3 separate regions of the Homo sapiens genome follow, and all the other regions are linked to region 1. Evidence: promoter capture Hi-C in human tissues and cell types (Jung and others, 2019). All regions are on one chromosome and are shown on one strand. The core of a region is centred on a gene start or on the middle of the fragment in contact, and the rest is flanking DNA. Distances in the headings are between cores, read along the strand shown.

Region 1 (3,620 bases), core at 373-2,872:
GGCGGCTCCCTGTAGCCGAGGCGGGGCTGAGTGACAGGGAACACCTGTGGCCGAGGCGGGGCTGAGTGACAGGGAACACCTGTGGCCGAGGCGGGGGCTGAGTGTGACGGGGAACACCTGTGGCCGAGGCGGGGCTGAGTGTGACGGGGAACACCTGTGGCCGAGGCGGGGCTGACTGACAGGGAACACCTGTGGCCGAGGCGGGGGCTGAGTGTGACGGGGAACACCTGTGGCCGAGGCGGGGCTGAGTGTGACGGGGAACACCTGTGGCCGAGGCGGGGCTGAGTGTGACGGGGAACACCTGTGGCCGAGGCGGGGGCTGAGTGTGACGGGGAACACCTGTGGCCGAGGCGGGGCTGAGTGTGATGGGGAACACCTGTGGCCGAGCCGGGGGCTGAGTGTGACGGGGAACACCTGTGGCCGAGGCGGGGCTGAGTGTGACGGGGAACACCTGTGGCCGAGGCGGGGCTGAGTGTGTTGGGGAACACCTGTGGCCGAGGCGGGGGCTGAGTGTCACAGGGAACAGAGGGGGCACCTCCTCGAGGCTTTCTAAGCGCCTGGCATCCAGACGGGCTGTTTCGCTTCGCAAAGGCAAAAGCCCAGGGAGCCTGGAATCACCCGCAACCAGGTTCTCCTCAAACCCTAACCCCGGCTCCCTACTTCTTCAGGGCCTGCCCCAGACCCCCAAGGCTCCGCCACAAGCCTCTAAAAGTCTTTCAGCCCCACCCCTGACCCCCTTTGCTTCCCACACTTCATTTCACCCCTTGAGCCCACGGCCTCACCCTAAATTCTCAGGCTTCACCGTAGGGGTCCCATGTACTCTCCAGGTCCAGCCTCCAACGCCCTTAGCTCTCCAGGCCCAACCCCTAAAACTCCCCAGTCCCCAGACTCCACCCCGGGGACCCCACGTACTCTCCAGGCCCTTCCCCTATTGCCCCCAAATACGAGGCTTCATCCCAGGGACCCCATAGCCTCTTCAGGCCCCGCCCCTATAACCCCCAATCTCCAGGGTCCATCCCAGGGACCCCCTACCCTCTCCAGACCCCTATAACTCCGCAGTCCCCAGTCTCCACCCTAGGGACCCTATTCCCTCTCCAGGCCCCGCACCGATAACCCCGCAGTCTCCAGGCCCTGCCTCTACAGCCCCCCAGTCCCCAGGCTCCACCCCGGCGACCCCAAACCCACTCCAGGCCCCGCCCCCGAAGTCCCACCAAGCGCCTTCAGCCTCGCCCCAAACTCTCCTTAGGCCCCGCCCCGAACCCAGCCCCGCGGGCCTCAGGCCTCCCCCAGGTTTCCGCCGCAAACCCTGAGCCCCGAGCCCCGCGCCCCGCGCCCCGCGCCCCGCGCCCCGCGCCCCGCGCCCCGCGCCCCGCGCCCCAGGCCGCCTACCCAGCAGCCTTTGCTCCCGGCCACGCCCCCGACCCCGCAGGCCCCGCCACGGCTGCGCCGCGTTCCCTCGGGTCCGTGGACACGGTCAGGGGTCCGTCCGCCCTCGCCGGGCCCCCGCAGCCCCGCACTCACCTGGTCGGCCCGTGCGCCAAGCTCAGCGGGCGTCCGCGGTGCGATCTTCCCTAGCGCCTCGGGTCTGGCGCCGCCATCTTCCTCGGTAACAACCAGTCGCCTGAGGCGTGGGGCCGCCTCCCAAAGACTTCTGGGAGGGCGGTGCGGCTCAGGCTCTGCCCCGCCTCCGGGGCTATTTGCATACGACCATTTCCAGTAATTCCCAGCAGCCACCGTAGCTATATTTGGTAGAACAACGAGCACTTTCTCAACTCCAGTCAATAACTACGTTAGTTGCATTACACATTGGGCTAATATAAATAGAGGTTAAATCTCTAGGTCATTTAAGAGAAGTCGGCCTATGTGTACAGACATTTGTTCCAGGGGCTTTAAATAGCTGGTGGTGGAACTCAATATTCGTGCTCGCTTCGGCAGCACATATACTAAAATTGGAACGATACAGAGAAGATTAGCATGGCCCCTGCGCAAGGATGACACGCAAATTCGTGAAGCGTTCCATATTTTTTTTTTTTTTTCCATTTTCCCTCCCAGAAACGGAATCTTGCTCTGTTGCCCAGGCTGGAATGCAATGGCGCGATCTTAGCTTGTTGCAACCTCCGCCTCCCGGGTTGAAGCGATTCTCCTGCCTCAGCCTCCCGAGTAGCTGGGATTATAAACATGCGCCACCACGCCCGGCTAATTTTTGTATTTTGGTAGAGACGGGGTTTCGCCATGTTGGCCAGGGTGGTCTCTATCTACTGACCTCCTGATCCGCCCGCCTCGGCCTCCCAGAGTACTGGGATTACAGGTGTGAGCCACCGCGCCCGGCCTTTCTTCCATTTTCTAATGTCCAAGAGTGGGGAAACTGTAAGCGAAGTCACCGACCCCGTTGAGTATTCCTACTTCCAACCCTATTCCCACCTCCTCCTCCAAAAGCCAGTTTAATGCAATGGATGTGGTGCTCTTCTATTTTTATTTTTATTTTTTTTGAGACAGGGTCTCGCTCTGTGGCCCAGGCTGGAGTGCAGTAGCGCGATCTCAGCTCACTGCAACCTCCGCCTTCCAGGCTCAAGCGATTCTCCTGCCTCAGCCTCCCGAGTAGCTGGGACTACAGGCGCGCACCACCATGCCCAACAAATTCTTGTATTTTTAGTAGAGACGGAGTTTCACCATGTTGGCCAGGATGGTCTCAGTCTCTTGACCTGGTGATCTGCCTGCCTCAGCCTCCCAAAGTGCTGGGATTACAGGCGTGAGCCACCGCGCCCAGCCTGTTTTTTCAAAATTTTAATAGCGATGGGGTCTCACTATGTTGCCCAGGCTGATTTCAAACTCCAGGCCTCAAGCCCTCCTTCCACCCCGGCCTCCCAAAGTGCTGGGATTATAGGCGTGAGCCACCGCGGCCTCACTGCATGATTTTTGCAAGAATTCTGCAAATATAAAACTGTTCTAAAATTACAGGTTAACAATGGCCCAAATATCAGAGTGTTTTTTCTGGATCAGGGTTCAGTTCTCCAAGAGGGCCACGCAGTGACCTTACAGAAAATCCCCATTCCCAGGCAGCAGGTAGGGATTTAACGTTCTTAGCGGCCCGGGTGTGGTGGCACACACCTGTAATCCCAGTACTTTGGGAGGCCAAGGTCTGAGGACAGCTTGAGTTTGAGACCAGCCTGGGAAACATAGCCAGACCCCGTCTCTACAAAAAAAAATTAAAAATTAGCAGGGTTGGGGAGGGAGGGGCGCTGGGCAAGGTGGTTCAGGCCTGTAATCCCTGAACTTTGGGAGGCTGAGGCACGCAGATCACCTGAGAACAGGAGTTCGAGACTAGCCTGGCCAACATGTTGAAACCACATCTCTACTAAAAATACAAAAATATTAGCTGGGCATGGTGACACATGCCTGTAGTCCTAGCTACTCTAGAGGTTGAGGCAGGAGAATCACTTGAACCCAAGAGGTGGAGGTTGCAGTGAGCTGAGATCGCGCCACTGCACTCCAGCCTGGGGGACAGAGCAAGACTCTGTCTCAAAATAAATAAATAAATAAATAAAATAGCTGGGTGGGGTGATGCACACCTGTAGGCCCAGTTACTCAGGAGGCAAAAGTGGGAGGATCACTTCAGTCTG
Region 2 (3,620 bases), core at 695-3,194, 220 kb before region 1:
GGTCAGGTCTTGGCCAAGGTCACACTGTCCAGCCCCCGCACATCCTCAGTGAGAACACAGGGTCCCATCCCTGCCCCACTCCCCAATCCCGGGAGAGTCCCGGGGGAATGCCAGAGGCCAAGGCCAGGTCGAGACGGCGGGGTGTCCCCCGTCAGTGAGAACACAGGGTCCTGTGCCTGCCCCACTCCCCAAGCCGGGGAGATTCCCGGGGGAAATGCCAGAGGCCAAGGCCAGGTCGAGACGGCGGGGTGTCCCCCCTCAGTGAGAACACAGGGTCCCGTCCCTGCCCTGCTCCCCAAGCCGGGGAGATTCCCGGGGGAAATGCCAGAGGCCAAGGCCAGGTCGAGACGGCGGGGTGTCCCCCCTCAGTGAGAATACAGGGTCCCGTCCCTGCCCTGCTCCCCAAGCCGGGGAGATTCCCGGGGGAAATGCCAGAGGCCAAGGCCAGGTCAAGACGGCGGGGTGTCCCCCCTCAGTGCCACTAAGGCAGAACTTGGCCCCTGGCCACTGGCTGCTGGGGGACACAGGCTGGGCAGCTAAGGTGGAGGAAAGGGTACAGGTGTGTCTTCTGTGGGCACAGATCTCACTCAGGCCAGAGAAGGGGCTGTGCCGTGGGGCTGCTGGACACGTCCGTTTCCACCTGCGGGGTGGGCAATGCCGGCACAGCGAGTGGCCAGACACAGGCATGCCCAGCAGACACCCAACCGCTCTCCACCACCTCAACCTTCTGTATTTTCCTGAAAGCATTTACCACTCCTTGAAGTTATAGATTAATTTGTCTCTGCATTTTGTTGTCCAAACCAGGAGCTCGGTGAGGGTGTGATGGGGTCTGCCTTGGTCACCGTGGCACCCCAGCACCCCGCAGGGTCCCTCTGGCCAAAAGAGATGTTCACTGATGCCCTAGAAGCAGGAACAGAGGGGCTCCCCTGCGCTCGCCAAGGGCGCCTGACAAATCTGGAGGCCCCCATGACAGAATCAGCTCCAGAGTAGGAAATGTGTCTGGCTGCACGAAAGCCCCCTCGGGCGCAGCGCCTCCAGGCCCACGCAGATGTCGCTGTCATACATTGTTGGAAACGCCTCTGCTGGAAACAGTGTTTGCTGAATCTTGGAGGGAGAGGAAAAAACCTAGTAAACATTCTTGTTGAGGTGATCTGGGGGAATGTCTGCAAAGGCTTGGAGGGCTGATGGGGCAGAGCTGCCCAGGGGCCCAGGACAAAGGCCAGGCGTGCGCGCGCACACACACACACACACACACACACACACGCAGTGGCCTCCCTGGGGGCCGTGGCTGGGCGAGGCCTGCTGTTGTCCGAGATGCTGGAAGGAGCTGTGTCTCTGGGTCTGTCCCGGCCGCACCCCGTTCTGTCCCACACCCAACCACTCCCCACCCACAGGCCGGCTCCAGCGGCCAGGTGGACGGGTGCGCGGCCCGCGCTGTGAGCAGGGAACCATATCCAGCTGAGGTTTTGGGTGTGTGGGGCGGGTCGGGAACAAGGAGGCCGGGTTGGGGGGCTCAGACCACACTTGGACCATGAAAGTGACCACATGCAAATCACAGAAACGGGATGCAGGGATCCACAGACGTGCTCCTCTTGGGTCCCCGTTACCTCACCGCCACCCCTGAAACTGAAGACCCCCAAACCCACTTTAATTCCTGGAGACGGCCCCTCGATCCACCCAAAAGGCTGCCACCACCTCGAACCCACACCCCTGTCCCGGTTCCGCCCTGGGTCCAGCCACATCTCCCCAAATGCATTCTCTGGCTCCGGAAGGGGACCCGGGCGCTCGCCCCCAACTGCCCCCCGCAGCGGCCGGGCCCGGCGCCTGCCCACCCCGCGCGGGACACGGCCTCGCCCCCGCCACTCCCGCGCCGCGCCCCGCCCCGCGCCCCGCCCCGCCCGCGGCCCGCGGGACCTTTATAGGGAGCGCCGGCCGCGCGCTGGGAAGTCGGTGCCGCTGCCGTCTCTGCGTTCGCCATGCGTCCCGGGGCGCCAGGGCCACTCTGGCCTCTGCCCTGGGGGGCCCTGGCTTGGGCCGTGGGCTTCGTGAGCTCCATGGGCTCGGGGAACCCCGCGCCCGGTGAGTGGGGCGGCCAGAGGGGCGGGCGGGGCGGGCCACCCACGTGGGGCTGCGCGGAATGCGGCCGGGGGGACGTCGGGGGGCGCGGCGGCGGCGGCGGGGGCGAGGGCGGTGTCCGGCGCAAGCTGGAGCCGGGAAGGTCTGAAGGAGGGTCACCAAGAGGTCAGCAGAGCAGAGGTTTCTAATCACAATGACCGCTGACATTTATTGAGCGCTTAGTGTCTACCTCTCCCCTCCCTGAACCTGTGCCATCCCGATAGTGCCGGAGCTCTCTTCATCTCCGTCTTCCAGATGGGGAAACTGAGGCTCAGGGTCACACAGCCTGTAGCAGGCAAAGCCAGGGTTCTAGCCGCGACCGTCCGGGTCGGTCCTGGTGCCGAGAGGTAGTGCTGGGTGTCGGGAGCCAGGCCCTCCAGCTGGGGCTGAGAGCTTTCCCGGGTCCTGGGTAGACGGGGCATGGAGTCTCACACCTGGGACTTGCCGGGAGGTGCCAGGCAGGAGACGGCCCCACTCCTGGCCTCAGTTTCCCCTCCTATGATGGGTGCCAAGGTGCTGCGTTCCACAAGCTGGTCCCTGGCAGTGTCTGTGAACCAGCAAGCGCTCTGGGATGGGGGCTGTGGCCGTTCCTGCCCCCAGGGACGGGGGAAGAAATGGGGGGCTCTCTGGCTCCCCACCCCCCATCCCTGCAGCCCCACCCCACCCCAGCCCTGCGCCAAAGGGAGAGCAGAGCCCCCTCCCCGAAGGCCACGTCCCTGGGGAGACAGTGAGCTCATGCAAGGGGAATGTTCCCAAGTTGGAGTGAGTAAGAGGCGGGCCAGGCGGTGGGGGGGCTGCCAGGCGCGGGGCTCCGCGTGCCCTCGCCCTCGGGTGCTGTCTAGACAGAGGGCAGAGGCGGGAGAAGCGGCTCCAGGGCCTGCTGACCCTGACATGCCCAGTGCCTGGTGTTTGGTGGTGTTTGAGGGGTTGGGCAGGGTGCCAGCCCCTGGCCTGGGGGCTTGGAGGGTACGGGAAGGGACCTCCTGGGGTGGGTGGGGGTTGGTGGTGAGGCTGTGGGGGGGGGCACGTGGAGCTCAGAGGGGAGGAGACATTTCCAGGGTTCTGGAGCCAGGGTGGGGACACCCATGTGGTTTTCTGCCCCTTCTTCCTGGGTGGGGGTAGATCATTCCGTGCGTAACTACTCAGCACCACCTGCATGCATCTGTGGGCGGGCCAGAAGCTGGGTGTCAGGAGTGGCCCAGGAGAGCACCCCGTTCCCCGGCCCGCAGGTGGTGTTTGCTGGCTCCAGCAGGGCCAGGAGGCCACCTGCAGCCTGGTGCTCCAGACTGATGTCACCCGGGCCGAGTGCTGTGCCTCCGGCAACATTGACACCGCCTGGTCCAACCTCACCCACCCGGGGAACAAGATCAACCTCCTCGGCTTCTTGGGCCTTGTCCACTGCCTTCCCTGCAAAGGTGAGACCTCAGGCCAGAAGCAGGGCAGACGTCTCAGCTCAGGACCAGCCACAAACAGTCATGGTGGTCGAGGGCCGAACGTCCAGGGAC
Region 3 (3,620 bases), core at 520-3,019, 200 kb before region 1:
CTCAGCCTCCCGAGTAGCTGGGGATACGTACAGCCACTTGCTACCATGCCCAACTAATTTTCGTATTTTTTTTTTGAGACAGAGTCTCGCTCTGTCCCCCAGGCTGGAGTGCAGTGGCGCGATCTCGGCTCACTGAAAGCGCCGCCTCCCGGGTTCACGCCATTCTCCTGCCTCAGCCTCCTGGGTAGCTGGGACTACAGGCGCCTGCCACCACATCCGGCTAATTTTTTTGTATTTTTAGTAGAGATGGGGTTTCACTGTATTAGCCAGGATGGTCTCGATCTCCTGACCTCGTGATCCTCCTGCCTCGGCCTCCCAAAGTGCTGGGATTACAGGCATGAGCCACCGCACCCAGCCTAATTTTCGTATTTTTAGTAGAGACAGAGTTTCACCATGTTGGCCAGGCTGGTCTCATACTCCTGACCTCAAACAATCCACCGTGTCCCAACGTGAGGGGGACTGCAGGCTGGCGGGGGAGCTGGGGACACTGCAGCCCAGGACCAACCTATCCCGTGCCTGGTGGGGGCTCCTGCAGGAGGGGACCCACCCACCCTGGCCCCAATATACATTTTAATAGTTATTATAACAATATGTTTAAAACGAGGCAGGGCATGGCGGCTCACACCTGCAATCCCAGCACTTTGGGAGGCAGAGGCGGGTGGATCATTTGAAGTCAGGAGTTCGAGACCAGCCTGGCCAACATGGTGAAATCCAGTCTCTACTAAAAATGCAAAAATTAGCCAGGTGTGGTGGTGGGCGCCTGTGATCCCAGCTACTCGGGAAGCTGAGGCAGGAGAATCGCTTGAGCCCGGGAGGTGGAGGTTGCAGTGAGCCGAGATTGCACCGTTGCACTCCAGCCTGGGGAACCGAGACTGCCTCAAAAAAAAAAAAGAACATAGTGACAGTTACAGTAACAGAATATGTACTTGTTGCGCCTGTTGCTTCTTCTGTGCTTCTTTTGCCTCCCTGCCTTATCCTCCTGTTTTCCCTTTGTTGCCCTTTAAATCCAGCCCCTGCTGAGACTCCCCCTCCTGCAGGAGCCACGGCGCCCCCAGCTCCCCCACCAGCCTGGAGTCCCCCTCATGTCGGGATACGGTGTCCAGAAAGAAGGGGCCCGACAGGTGAGCTCACCTGTGGCTGAAGCAGTGGGCGGCCGAGACCACCCAGCGGGCTCGCAGCAGGAAGCCTCCGCAGTGATGTTGGCCCCCGAAGCGCACGGATGCCATGTAGGGCCTGGAGTGGGGGGTCACCTCGTGGCCCCCGATGATCTGGGCCCCCCAGGAGCCTGCTGGAGGGACGGCCTGAGTCAGGGACGAGGCGGGAGGAACGGATGACGGGGCTGGGGTCAGGGCAGGGGGAGAAGTAGCGGCCAAGACAGAGACAGGGGGTGAGATTAGAGACGGAGAGACCCAGAGAGCTGGAGACAGAGCCCAGACAAGCCCCCCAGATGCGCTGGGAGGGGCTCCCGAGCCCGGGAGATCCAGGGCTGGGCTGGGCAGAGACCCCGGCCGGATTTCCATCCATTTCCAGCAGAGGCAGCCACGGGGGCTCGGCAGATGGAGCAGGTGGAGCTCTCCCCAGGGTTCTCCCGGGACTGGGGGTTCCCGGGTGTGGCCCCCGTACGGGGACTTGGCGGGGGCCTGGGTGGGGATCCCGGGGGGCTCCTCACCGGGGGGCTTCACGGGCAGCATCAGGGCGGTGGCCACAGTCAGCAGAGGACGTCCCCAGCCCCTCAACCCGAGCCCCATGGCAGACGCAGGCTGGCGTCTCCCCGCAGAGGTCTTCGGGCCGTGGCTCCCACCCTCAGCCAACGGCCGGAAAGGGGGAGCCTGGCTGTGGCCTGTGGTCGGGAGGCCCCACCAGCAACGCCTGGAGCCCAGGCGGGCGTTTCTGAGAAATCGATGGTCTCAGGTGGTGGCTGGTAATAATCATGTTGATAATAATCATTGTCCCCTAGTCCGGAAACAGGGAGAGGAGGAGACAGCTCTGGGGCTGCAAGTGACCTCGGGAAGGCAATTGACCCTTCTGTGCCTCAGTTTACCCAGCCTCCACGTGGCCCAGCATGTGTGGGGAGCTTTCCGAGGAACCGAGGTCACAGCGGCACTCGAGACCCGCAGCTCGCCTCCGGCCCCCACCCCGCAAACCCCAGTCTTCCCATCTCCAAACCCAGGGCCGACCTCAGGGCTGTGGGGACAGCGAGGAAGGCCGGTCTCCTGGGAAGCTCTGATGATTTCTGCCTTTATTTTATTTTATTTTTATAGGTGGGGTTTTGCTATGTTGCCCAGGCTGGTCTCGAACTCCTGGGCTCCAGCGATCCTCCCTCCTCGGCCTTCCAAAGTGCTGAGATCACAGAAGACAGCCACTGCACCTGGCAGATTTCTGCCTTTATTCAGCAGTTATTGAGTGCCTAGTGTATACCAGACCTCATGCTAGGAGGTGAGGATGAGGCAGTGACCGCACCCCAGCCTGTAGCACTGACGTTCTGTGGGATCCGGAGTCCAGTGGGACATGGCTGTACATGGGGGTCTTCACCTTTTTTTTCTTTTCTTTTTTTTTTTGAGATGGAGTCTTGCTCTTGTTGCCCAGGCTAGAGTGGAATGGCACCATCTCGGCTCACCGCAACCTCTACCTCCCGGGTTCGAGTGATTCTCGTTCCTCAGCCTCCCGAGTAACTGGAACTACAGGCGCCCGCCACCACAGCCGGCTAATTTTGTTTCTGTATTTTTAGTAGAGACGGGGTTTCACCATATTAGCCAGGATGGTCTCGATCTCCTGACCTCATGATCCGCCCGCCTCGGCCTCCCAAAGTGCTGGGATTACAGGCATGAGCCACGGTGCCCGGCCTTTTTTTTTTTTTTTTTTTTTTTGAGAAGGAATCTTGCTCTTGTTGCCCAGGCTAGAGTGCAGTGGCGCGATCTTGGCTCACCGCAACCTCTGTCTCCTGAGTTCAAGGGATTCTCCTTCCTCAGCCTCCTGAGTAACTGGGATTACAGGTGCCCACCACCACGCCCCGCTAAATTTGTGTGTTTAGTAGAGACGGAGTTTCTCCATGTTGGTCAGGCTGGTCTCGAACTCCCGACCTCAGGTGATCCACCTGCCTCAGCCTCCCAAAGTGCTGGGATGACAGGCCTGAGCCACCGCGCCCAGCCCGGCAGGTCTTCACCTTTCAGTGGGAGCGTTCTTAGTGGCAAAGTTCAGGTCGTAAATTGCAGCTCACACAGCCGGGTGATGGCGTTCACGGCAGTGGCTAGCAGTGGGGTGCTCGTCAGCGCTTAATAATGAACAGGCTGGGGCCGGGTGCAGTGGCTCACGCCTATAATCCTAGCACTTTGGGAGGCCGAGGCAGGTGGATCACCTGAGGTCAGGAGTTCAAGACCAGCCTGGCCAACATAGTGAAACCCCGTCTCTACTTAAAGTACCAAAATTAGTCAGGCGTGGTGGCAGGTGCCTGTAATCCCAGCTACTTGGGAGGCTGAGGCAGGAGAATCGCTTGAACCGGGAGGTGGAGGTGGCAGTGAGCCAAGATTGCACCATTGCACTCCAGCCTGGGTGACAGAGCGAGACACCATCTCAAAAAAAAAAAAAAAAAAAAAGTCATCATTGAACGCTCCAGACCTGTG

What was found. The method cuts DNA at HindIII sites, captures the fragments that hold promoters and counts their contacts. A contact is called where the count stands out against the background at its distance.
Region 2: a contact is called between the fragment with the promoter of FSTL3 here and the fragment with the promoter of MED16 in region 1, in 1 of the 25 tissues and cell types used here (dorsolateral prefrontal cortex).
Region 3: a contact is called between the fragment with the promoter of PRSS57 here and the fragment with the promoter of MED16 in region 1, in 1 of the 25 tissues and cell types used here (dorsolateral prefrontal cortex).

What each region holds. Positions count from the first base shown.
Region 1 is chr19:891,565-895,184 of GRCh38, forward strand. MED16 (mediator complex subunit 16) reads right to left here and starts at 1,623. Exons shown (of 16, transcript NM_005481.3): 1 at 1,522-1,623. It overlaps RNU6-9 (RNA, U6 small nuclear 9), which reads left to right and starts at 1,920; the gene lies at 1,920-2,026. RefSeq lists silencers at 1,241-1,290, 1,341-1,610 and an enhancer at 1,751-1,900. The HindIII fragment of the contact is 37,799 bases long and covers 1-3,620 here.
Region 2 is chr19:674,448-678,067 of GRCh38, forward strand. It overlaps FSTL3 (follistatin like 3), which reads left to right and starts at 1,945. Exons shown (of 5, transcript NM_005860.3): 1 at 1,945-2,079; 2 at 3,345-3,530. The coding sequence starts at 1,977. The HindIII fragment of the contact is 14,894 bases long and covers 1-3,620 here.
Region 3 is chr19:693,683-697,302 of GRCh38, forward strand. PRSS57 (serine protease 57) reads right to left here and starts at 1,770. Exons shown (of 5, transcript NM_001308209.2): 1 at 1,670-1,770; 2 at 1,132-1,285. The coding sequence starts at 1,748. The HindIII fragment of the contact is 19,970 bases long and covers 1-3,620 here.